2 separate regions of the Homo sapiens genome follow, and region 1 is linked to region 2. The links are contacts of gene promoters, found by promoter capture Hi-C in human tissues and cell types (Jung and others, 2019). All regions are on one chromosome and are shown on one strand. Each heading gives the region's core, a stretch centred on a gene start or on the middle of the fragment in contact. The rest is flanking DNA. Distances are from core to core; before and after follow the strand shown.

Region 1 (4,736 bases), core at 1,374-3,873, 44 kb after region 2:
GAATCTGGAGCCAGTCTGCCAAATTCAAATCTTAGGTCCACCTCATACTGTTTGACCTTGGGCAAGTCACTTACCCCCTTCAAATCTTAATTTTATTATGTATAAAACGTAATAATAGTATAGCCTAACATTTAGGATTGCCATAAATATTAAAAGAATTCCTCCGTATGAAATTCTTATGTCTGTTCATGACACATATAGTTCCATATATACATTAACTGTCATTATTAGTGAAAAATTCAAACGAATCCTGGTCAGTATCAGAGAATCTTAGGCTCACTCAAAATAGATGGAATCTTATTTCTAATAAGAATTAATAATTTAAAAAACTATAAATGTCTTAATATTTAAAATTTCAAATCAAAATTCTTAAATACAAAATCTAAAAAGTACTATTTATTCATTTTTAATTTTATTCTAATTTGTCAAAGTTATTAATTGTCCTTTATGAAAGTATACTATTAATTTGAAGTGTTCAAAAATGTTCTGAACATTATGGGATTTCTACCTTAAATCATTAGATAGCCACAACCACTCATTGTAAAAAGCTAGTGAATATTACATATATATTTCTTCTATCATAGTATTGTAGAATCCATACATATTTTCAAAGAGTAATTTCATGAAACCAAGGCCAAGGCAGGAAAAATGAGCAACTAATATAGTTATAAGAGGCCTAAATGGGCAACTTATGTGGTGCAAAGAGGCCTAGCGTTCCCTTTTCACCAAGTCAGACCACCCAATCCATGTTAGAGTTAGGTGGCCCACCTCCATTTTGCTCGAATAAAGAGAAACATATTTTAAACTTTAGCAGTGTACTTATGTATAAAAGGTGCTGTGGGGGTCTACTTTACATGGCATAACTCTTTCCATCTTGACCTGTGGTATGATACGGTGCCACACTTGGACTTAAAACCCTTCAATGGGGCTGTGTCATCTAGAGGATAAAGATTCAACCCTTTAGCTCACATACCCAGCCTTCTTGGAGTTACAAAGTGCTTGGAATTCTTAAAAGGGGCCATGCATTTTTTTTTGTTGTAAATGCTGGCCCTTCCACCTAGAATGCCTTTATGCTTCTTGTTTGCCTGGAAAAATCTTACCCATTACTTCTTAACTCAAATGTCATACATTCAGGGAGACTTTGCAGATAACCTGTTAAAGCTAAATGCTTCTGATTTGGAAGCACCTCTTCATCGTCTTGAGACATTTATCTCATTGCTATAGGAATTGGTTTACAGGACCCCTATCAAACTTCAAACTCCATGAGATAATCATATAATCTATAGTATTTACTGAAATTCCTGGCAGTATTAACAATAGCAATAATACAAGCCATCATTTACTAGGTATTTATTACATAGTAGGCACTGTGCTGTTTTACCTAAATTATCTAGTTTAGATTATCTCCATTTTGAAAATGAGGAAATTAAGCCAAAGGGGTGGTAAGCCTGCTCATAAGGTTACATAACTAGTGGGGACTGAGACTTGGTTATTTAGCAGTTAACAAACACTCTCCCACTTCTCAGTGGTTTACAATCACTGGGGTTCATTCCTTACCCCTATTCCATGTTTATGGCACACTGGCTATCATTTTGCTTCATGATCTCTTCACTAGGGAACCCAAGCTCACAGAATTAATGTTTTATCTAAAATATTTTCAGGTATATGACAAAGATAAGAAGACATCCTGATAAACCATGGTGCACTGGCTCTTAAACATTCTACCCCGAAGTGAAAAATGTCACTTGCTCACACTTCATTAGCGAGATCAAGGCTAATCATGCTATCATAGGGTGGAGTAGTTGGATCTTTCCCCAGAGAGTAGCAGGGAGCACCCTGAACAATAATATAGTCTACTACAGATATTAATTCAGACTTTCCAGACTCTAGGGCCATATTTAACCCCTATGCTATATATTCTCCTACTACATATCTATTTGTGAATAAACACTACCAAATAGATTTCAGCTTTCCAATCTTCTAATAAGAGAATGAATGGCAAAAATAATAGAAGAACAGTACATGTAAATAATGAAATGAAAACTATCCAGATGAACGAAATAGTCTATATTACTATTTAAGTACTACTTAAATGTCATTTTTTCAAGCCCATTTCCTGGTACATTCATTGGCCAATAGAAATGCAATGAGTTACATCCAAGTTGGTTGGCAGAGATTATCACTATTTACTCTCAAAGTGAGACAAATTTATTTCATTCAGAATTTGATAACAAAGCTATCAATCACTCTGTCTGAGGCTGAAGGAGGAACATCCATTTGTTCTCCAGATATAAAACAAATATTTTTTTTTTGCTTTTAATTTACAAGGATTCCAATGAAGAATAAAGGTTGCTCTTTGGAAGGAAGAAAATATACAAATTCCTTAAATAAAATCAATAAAAAGCAAAAAGAATTGTATACTAGCCCGTACTGGTATAGCATTCTTCCAGCAGAAGACCTCAGTCATCTGTGCTATATACTTGGACCACACAGTAATTAGTCTATTGAGAATATTAATGATTGTTGGAGCCTGAATTTTTTGTGAATTCTTTTTGCCATGGAATTTAGAATATATTCCAATACTTGTTAGTGATATATCAAAGTTAAATAGACAGATTTTATTTATTTGAAATAACATGTATTTTACAGTATCTTCAGAAATGACCTTTGAGGCCATTAGGATTACAAATAGGTTTTTAAGTTTACTTGTTATTTTTGTCACTATTTATTAGACACAATCATTTATAGTTTATGAAAAATATTATTCTGATGTACACAAAAATTTTCTGATAATGTTGATTAAAAACAGCTATATCCACCTTCTTTGCGTCCACATCAATGTTTAATCTAGATTGGCTTAATCTTGAAGTGTAATTCAGTAACAATGAAGACCAGATACTTCCTGGTCATGAACCAGATAACAAAATATTCTTAAGCCTTCTGGATCCTTGGATTGCTTAACATCAATAAGGGAACCAATTTTAGATGTTATAAAAGAAACGTGTTCATGTCCAATGACGATTTCAAGCTCCTCCTGGTGAGGCGGAGGCCACAGAGCGTCATACTATTTGGTAATTTCACTGCCATTAATTATTCTCTTCAGTTCCTCCATCATATTTTTATATATGTAAGCCTCTTTTCTGATGATGACATTATCCTTGTAATTACTGTTGTTGGCACATCTCAGTTTCTTGTCTGGTTGGAATTCAATCTCCAGGAACTCATGGTCGAATTTGTCCTTGTGACTCACGTAGTAATGTAGATAAAAGTTACTCTCACGGCTTGCAAAAGGCACCCAAGATCAAAAAGCAAACTGTACCTCTGTGGTCTGTGCCCTACTCAAATAGGAGTTTTTTGTTGTTGTTTTTTCTTGTTGTTGTTTGTTTGTTGTTGTTGGTTTTTTTTTTTTTGACAGAGTTTCGCTCTGTTGCCCAGGCTGGAGTGCAGTGGCCCGATGTCGGCTCACTGCAACCTCTGCCTCCTGGGTTCAAGCAATTCTCCTGTCTCAGCCTCCCGAGTAGCTGGGATTACAGGCGTGTGCCACCACGCTCAGCTACTTTTTTTTATTTTTATTTTTAGCAGAGACGTTGTTTCACCATGGTGGCCAGACTGGTCTCAAACTCCTGACCTCAGGTGATCCGCCCACCTCCGCCTCCCAAAATGCTGGGATTATAGGCGTGAGCCACCGCACTCGACCTCAAATAGGTTTTTAGAAGATTTGTTATGATATATTGAAAACACAGATAAATAAAGGATTTTCTTCTTATCACAATAAGATTCTCCATTTTCCTAAAGTGTATTAAATTATACCTCCTTGACAGAGTGGTTACTAAGAAATATAAAATTCTAGTTTAGGAACCTCTGCCAAAAGGAAGATCAATCGGAAATTACAATGAGAAAAATGTACCCATATTGACAAAAATTGCATTAATTAGCATATCTCAGAACACATATTTATCAAATGAAGTTGGCTTTATCTGAACTGTCTAACAGAGAAGGACAGGTCAGGGGAAAGGAGTTAAGGGGAAACTCTGGTGACTGTAAGTCACCAAATAACCATATGCTCTTTCCAAGTGAGTTTTTCTCTTTTAAAAAAATTGAGTTCTCTGTAAATAAAGCTTTTTGGGGCTTGCAACATCTTCTGAGGCATCTATTTTGTCTGCCATCTCACTATCAAATCCATGTTCATATAAAACTGCAGAACCATCGTTCTTAATGTCCTCTTTAGCTCACACAAATCACTACTTTAATCTTTTGTTTAACTCTTCAAAGGTATTAAGTACATGAAAAATTAAATTATATATATATACATTTACATGCATATATGGATAACAGTGTCACTTCACAAAGTACCAAGAATTGGATAATAACTGCCTGAAAGGGAAACATTTTCATCAAAGGGATAGCAATTTATCTTGATTGACAATTTTTAAGTATTATAATACTGATTACGCTTCACCCTGCTCTGCTGTCTTAGGCTACTTTAGTTTACTTGCAATATTACTACTACTTCTGATAATGAATTTTCTAATAACACAACATGCTGCTGAAGTACATTCTTCTGGTGAATGAAGGCTTGATGGTTCTTTTCAATGGGGCCTGATACCAAGCTCTGTGCATCTCCATGTGTTGATCTCCAATGATGATAATGGGGGAAAAAAAAGTGGTCTTCTGAAAGTACAAAGCTCTTGCTCTGTTCATGCTCTAAATCCTTCAGATCAATCAGATCTTTGCAC
Region 2 (4,655 bases), core at 1,842-4,341:
TTTTTGAAATGTAGCTTGAGAGCATGATGTTTGTGCAGGAATCTGTATCTGACATTAAGTTTGATGTGGAATGTTTAAATGGTAACTAAAGCAGAGAAAGCAACAGTACACAAAAACACAAGTCTAAGAGCCCATCAGGAGGTTGGGTGTAACAGCCACATTTTGGAAGGTGTATACAAGGGCACATGGGCAGATGCCACAGACTCCAGAGGAACTTAAATTTCAGTATCCCTTTTATATTGAAAGACACTGTCAGATATATTGAGGCAGCCTGGAGGTGATGGGGACTACACTTAATAACTACTCATACTCCTCATTTTCTCAGTAAAGGAATCAAACCAGAGATTCACACTATTGCCGTTTTCAAGGATATATTTTTGACCTAACAATATACAAAGGTCAAAACGAGTCCTTTTTTGAGAGGAGAGGGTCTAATCCCCGCTTTGAACACAAGAGGTCGCTCCTGTGATCAAGTATTACGGATAAATTGCTCATCAGTTTTATGTATACAAAATTTTACAGATATATTTGATGCACTAAATCCACATACAGCAATCAGCTGAGGAAATCATAATAATCCATGATCAATTTAGAACTTCAAGGTAAAGTAAAACTACAAAGCCTGCTATTCTAACTTGGATTTTAATGCAAAATGTGTCATGATACATGCACTGAACTTCAGAGCATGTCCATCATGGTGGGGTCCCTCAAACGTCTCCTTTTAATGCTGGTATCTTCACCATGCGTCTTGCTTCTATCAGTTTAGGAACTTATTAAGAAAATACTTGTTTACAACAATGGTGCAGAATGAAAAGAGGAAAATGTTGTCTTCACCATTAAGGTGAAATTGTCTATTACTAAAGGTTTCCCCCAAGCCGCATGCAAGCTTTTCTACTTGGAAGTGCTATCATCTGCAATAATTCTTTGTAATAGCTTATTGGTTTAGGGAGTTAAAATACCACACTGTGGGTGGGAGGTGGGGGCTGGTTTGAAGGAGGATGGATAGTGAGGGTGCTTTGTGGATCTCAAATGTAAGTCATCAGGCTTCTGGTGGCTTCTGGTGTTTAATTCCATCTTATAAAAGTGGCATGATGGAATATGACTAGGTAAAACTCTATTTTCTGGCATTGTGGTGGTATCTTTTTTTTTTTTTTTTTTTACTAGGGTCAACATGTTTATCTCTATGGGAAACACACACAAATACTAGGAAGATTTGCTTCGTATTGAGATTAACAGCATCAGCTTTGCAAAAGCAGCCTGACAAAAGGCTCCATACATCTAATACCAGAGACTAGAAACAGACCAAAAAAAAAAAAAAAAAAAAACACACACCACACAACTGGTAAACTTATCAACCTAGGTCTATCCAACTTTCGCTTTCATACACGCGCTCTAAAACAACTTATAATAAAAATGGAAGGGAAGACAGATCCAATTTGAAATCCTCCTTGAGAAAAAACAAATCAAAACTAGTTCCTGGGGAAGAAAGCCTCAGCTAGGTCAGGAGGAAACTTACGCATCTTTGATTCCCTTTCCGCTTTGGAGAGGCATTACCCGTTCAAGCCCAGCCAATGCGGCCGGCCAGGATTTACAGCTCTTATCAAGGGTTAGATTTTGCGAAAGATATAAAGAAAGGAGTTTCCTAACACACCGGGTCTTCTCACAGCAACAAGACACCGAAATTAAGCCTTCTATGGTTTGTGTCTGTAGGACTTTTTAGATAAAACTGGCAGCCCCATTAGATAAGAAATGGCTTTTTAGAAGCTTTGGGGGAAGCGCGGGGGTTCTTCGTGGCCTTCCTGTGACTGTCTTTGGGAGACCGTAACAGATGATGGGAACATGTAAGAATGATTGAAGAAGGTTACCGGCGAGTTGCACCTAACAGTCTTCTCTCTCCAAGTAGTTTCTCGAGAGAAAATTATATATTAACGCCTGGGGACGTGAAATAGGTCTTTCACTGTTCTGTAATAAATCCCTCCCTACTCGCGCCCTTAGACTAATGCATTTTTAAAAAATCTCCACAAAGTCATGGAGACTTGTCCTTATAATTACCAAAATACCACAGCTAGTTGCACAAGTTTGCTTAAAAACAAAGGGCAGGAGACCAGCAGTGAGAAGAATTGAACAGTATATAAAAATCTTACAAACTTTAGACTACTGAAAGATCATTTCGCTCTTTGGCTTCGGGTTAGTGAGCTTCAATTCTAGAGTTAAACTGAGAAGCAGACCTCGCGGGTCTGAAAGACAAAAAGTCAGTCCGCGGAGTCAACTTCGGTTTACCGGTGCGTTCCAACCTGATTGTCCCAACAGCAAGAAGCGCCCCTTTCCTCCCACCCAACGTTTTTAGATATCTGAGGTTGGGGGAGACGGAGTAATGGTGTAGCAGTCAGGAAACAGTTCCTCTGGGTTTAATCATCCCATTCCCGATTCTTCTTCCCCTAGCGCGCCGAGCGCAGCCAGTTCTGGAGGAACTAGCCCTCCGGAGCAGCCAAGGCAGGCCAGGCCCCGGGGATGTGCACCACGGCGTGGGGACCAAACCAAGCTGAACGGCCTGCTCCAAGTTCCCCCCTTTTCCTAGAGCCCGGGAGGGACCTCGTCAACAGGTAGACCTACCCACCAGCCACTCGCCACCGGCGGCAGAAAGTGAGCCCCGCGCGCAACGCGGCCAGCCGGACTGCGGGGACCCCAGGAGCGCAGGGCGGAGGAGCAGCGCCACAGGAGGCGAGGGCGCAGGCGGCGCGGCCGGGAAGGAACGCGGGAGGGGACAGAAGGAAGAGGAAGAGGAGGAGAGGGAGGCCAGAGCCAGAACAGCCCGGCAGCCCGAGCTTCGGGGGAGAACGGCCTGAGCCCCGAGCAAGTTGCCTCGGGAGCCCTAATCCTCTCCCGCTGGCTCGCCGAGCGGTCAGTGGCGCTCAGCGGCGGCGAGGCTGAAATATGATAATCAGAACAGCTGCGCCGCGCGCCCTGCAGCCAATGGGCGCGGCGCTCGCCTGACGTCCCCGCGCGCTGCGTCAGACCAATGGCGATGGAGCTGAGTTGGAGCAGAGAAGTTTGAGTAAGAGATAAGGAAGAGAGGTGCCCGAGCCGCGCCGAGTCTGCCGCCGCCGCAGCGCCTCCGCTCCGCCAACTCCGCCGGCTTAAATTGGACTCCTAGATCCGCGAGGGCGCGGCGCAGCCGAGCAGCGGCTCTTTCAGCATTGGCAACCCCAGGGGCCAATATTTCCCACTTAGCCACAGCTCCAGCATCCTCTCTGTGGGCTGTTCACCAACTGTACAACCACCATTTCACTGTGGACATTACTCCCTCTTACAGATATGGGAGACATGGGAGATCCACCAAAAAGTAAGAGGCTATTTTACCTTGTGGGGCTCGGTGTGCTGTTCTTGTGCGGGGTTCTCTCTCAGGCACAGGCTGAGGTGCCAAGGGCTCTTTGGAGTTGGAGTCATTGCCTGGAGAAAGAGAAAAGGTGGCTTTTTCTTGTTGCCGCCACGCCTGCATGCTTACTGTCGGTTCTTATCTTCGGGAAACTGATTGTACCTTGTGTGTGAATTCGCCTGTGTGCCCTCCAAAGCTCTAGCTTTCTGGTGCTAAGCGGTGATTTCCTCCTGGGGAATCCTGAGCTCTCCGAGAAGGTTATTATGTTGCAAAGGTCTGCCTGCACAGTCAATGCCCAGAGATGTGAATTAGCATTAGACTTGCAAAAGAGAACGAGTGACAACTGTATTTATGCCTGCTCTTGCTAACAATATCCAGTCCTGTGTGCTATTTAAGAGCGCGCTTCACGGAAAATATAGACATCCCTGCGTTCACTTAACGCTTCTAGTCAAAACCTTTTCTTTGACTTGACTTATCCATAATCTTTCCCAATGATTATAGCAAAGAGGAAGGGGGGGGGGAGAAATACAAAATGAGCGGGTTTGATTGCGTGCTAGGCGTACAAATGTAGACTATTCCAATCTGCATTTTACATATATTCCACCTCCTTTTAAAAATGAGTCAAGGTTTTGATGGCACATTTCAATTACCATCCCAAAGTGCAATGCTCTAAAAAAAAAAAAAAAGAAAGAAAGAAAGAAAGAAAAAAACCTCCCAGAGTACGCCCTATAAGAGAACGACACTAAAAGTGTGTTTATCTCTGTAGGAAGTAAACGGTTAGTCAATCATGTATTTATTTTCATTTCAGAAAAACGTCTGATTTCCCTATGTGTTGGTTGCGGCAATCAGATTCACGATCAGTATATTCTGAGGGTTTCTCCGGATTTGGAATGGCATGCGGCATGTTTGAAATGTGCGGAGTGTAATCAGTATTTGGACGAGAGCTGTACATGCTTTGTTAGGGATGGGAAAACCTACTGTAAAAGAGATTATATCAGGTATGGCATTTACACTTCTTTCTTAATTTTGTGGGATTTCCCTGAATCTCCCCACTCTTTATGTATTATTTGGTGTGGCTTTGTCTTTTTGTGAAGTTTGCCTCAGTGTAGTCATACAAGCCAAAGTTACCCTGTACATGTGTTAAAAAAATCAAGCTATGCTGTTCATTTCATTCTTTAGTTGAGAAAAACAAAAACCCTTAACAGTGGTATTCATAATTCCGGGGTATTGAGGCTTGTTTAATTACTCTTGGAGTTTATGATGCACAAATTATTTTCCT

Evidence for each region. Contacts are between HindIII fragments. The study calls those that stand out against the background at their distance.
Region 1: a fragment that was not itself captured here is called in contact with the fragment with the promoter of ISL1 in region 2 in 1 of the 25 tissues and cell types used here (adrenal gland).

What each region holds. Positions count from the first base shown.
Region 1 is chr5:51,425,149-51,429,884 of GRCh38, forward strand. It overlaps the pseudogene LOC105379196. Among named protein-coding and RNA genes, the nearest start is that of ISL1, 44 kb to the left of the region's middle. The HindIII fragment of the contact is 4,377 bases long and covers 436-4,736 here.
Region 2 is chr5:51,380,357-51,385,011 of GRCh38, forward strand. ISL1 (ISL LIM homeobox 1) reads left to right here and starts at 3,092. Exons shown (of 6, transcript NM_002202.3): 1 at 3,092-3,343; 2 at 4,185-4,374. The coding sequence starts at 3,316. ISL1-DT (ISL1 divergent transcript) reads right to left here and starts at 2,976. Exons shown (of 2, transcript NR_046243.1): 1 at 2,618-2,976. The HindIII fragment of the contact is 8,696 bases long and covers 1,326-4,655 here.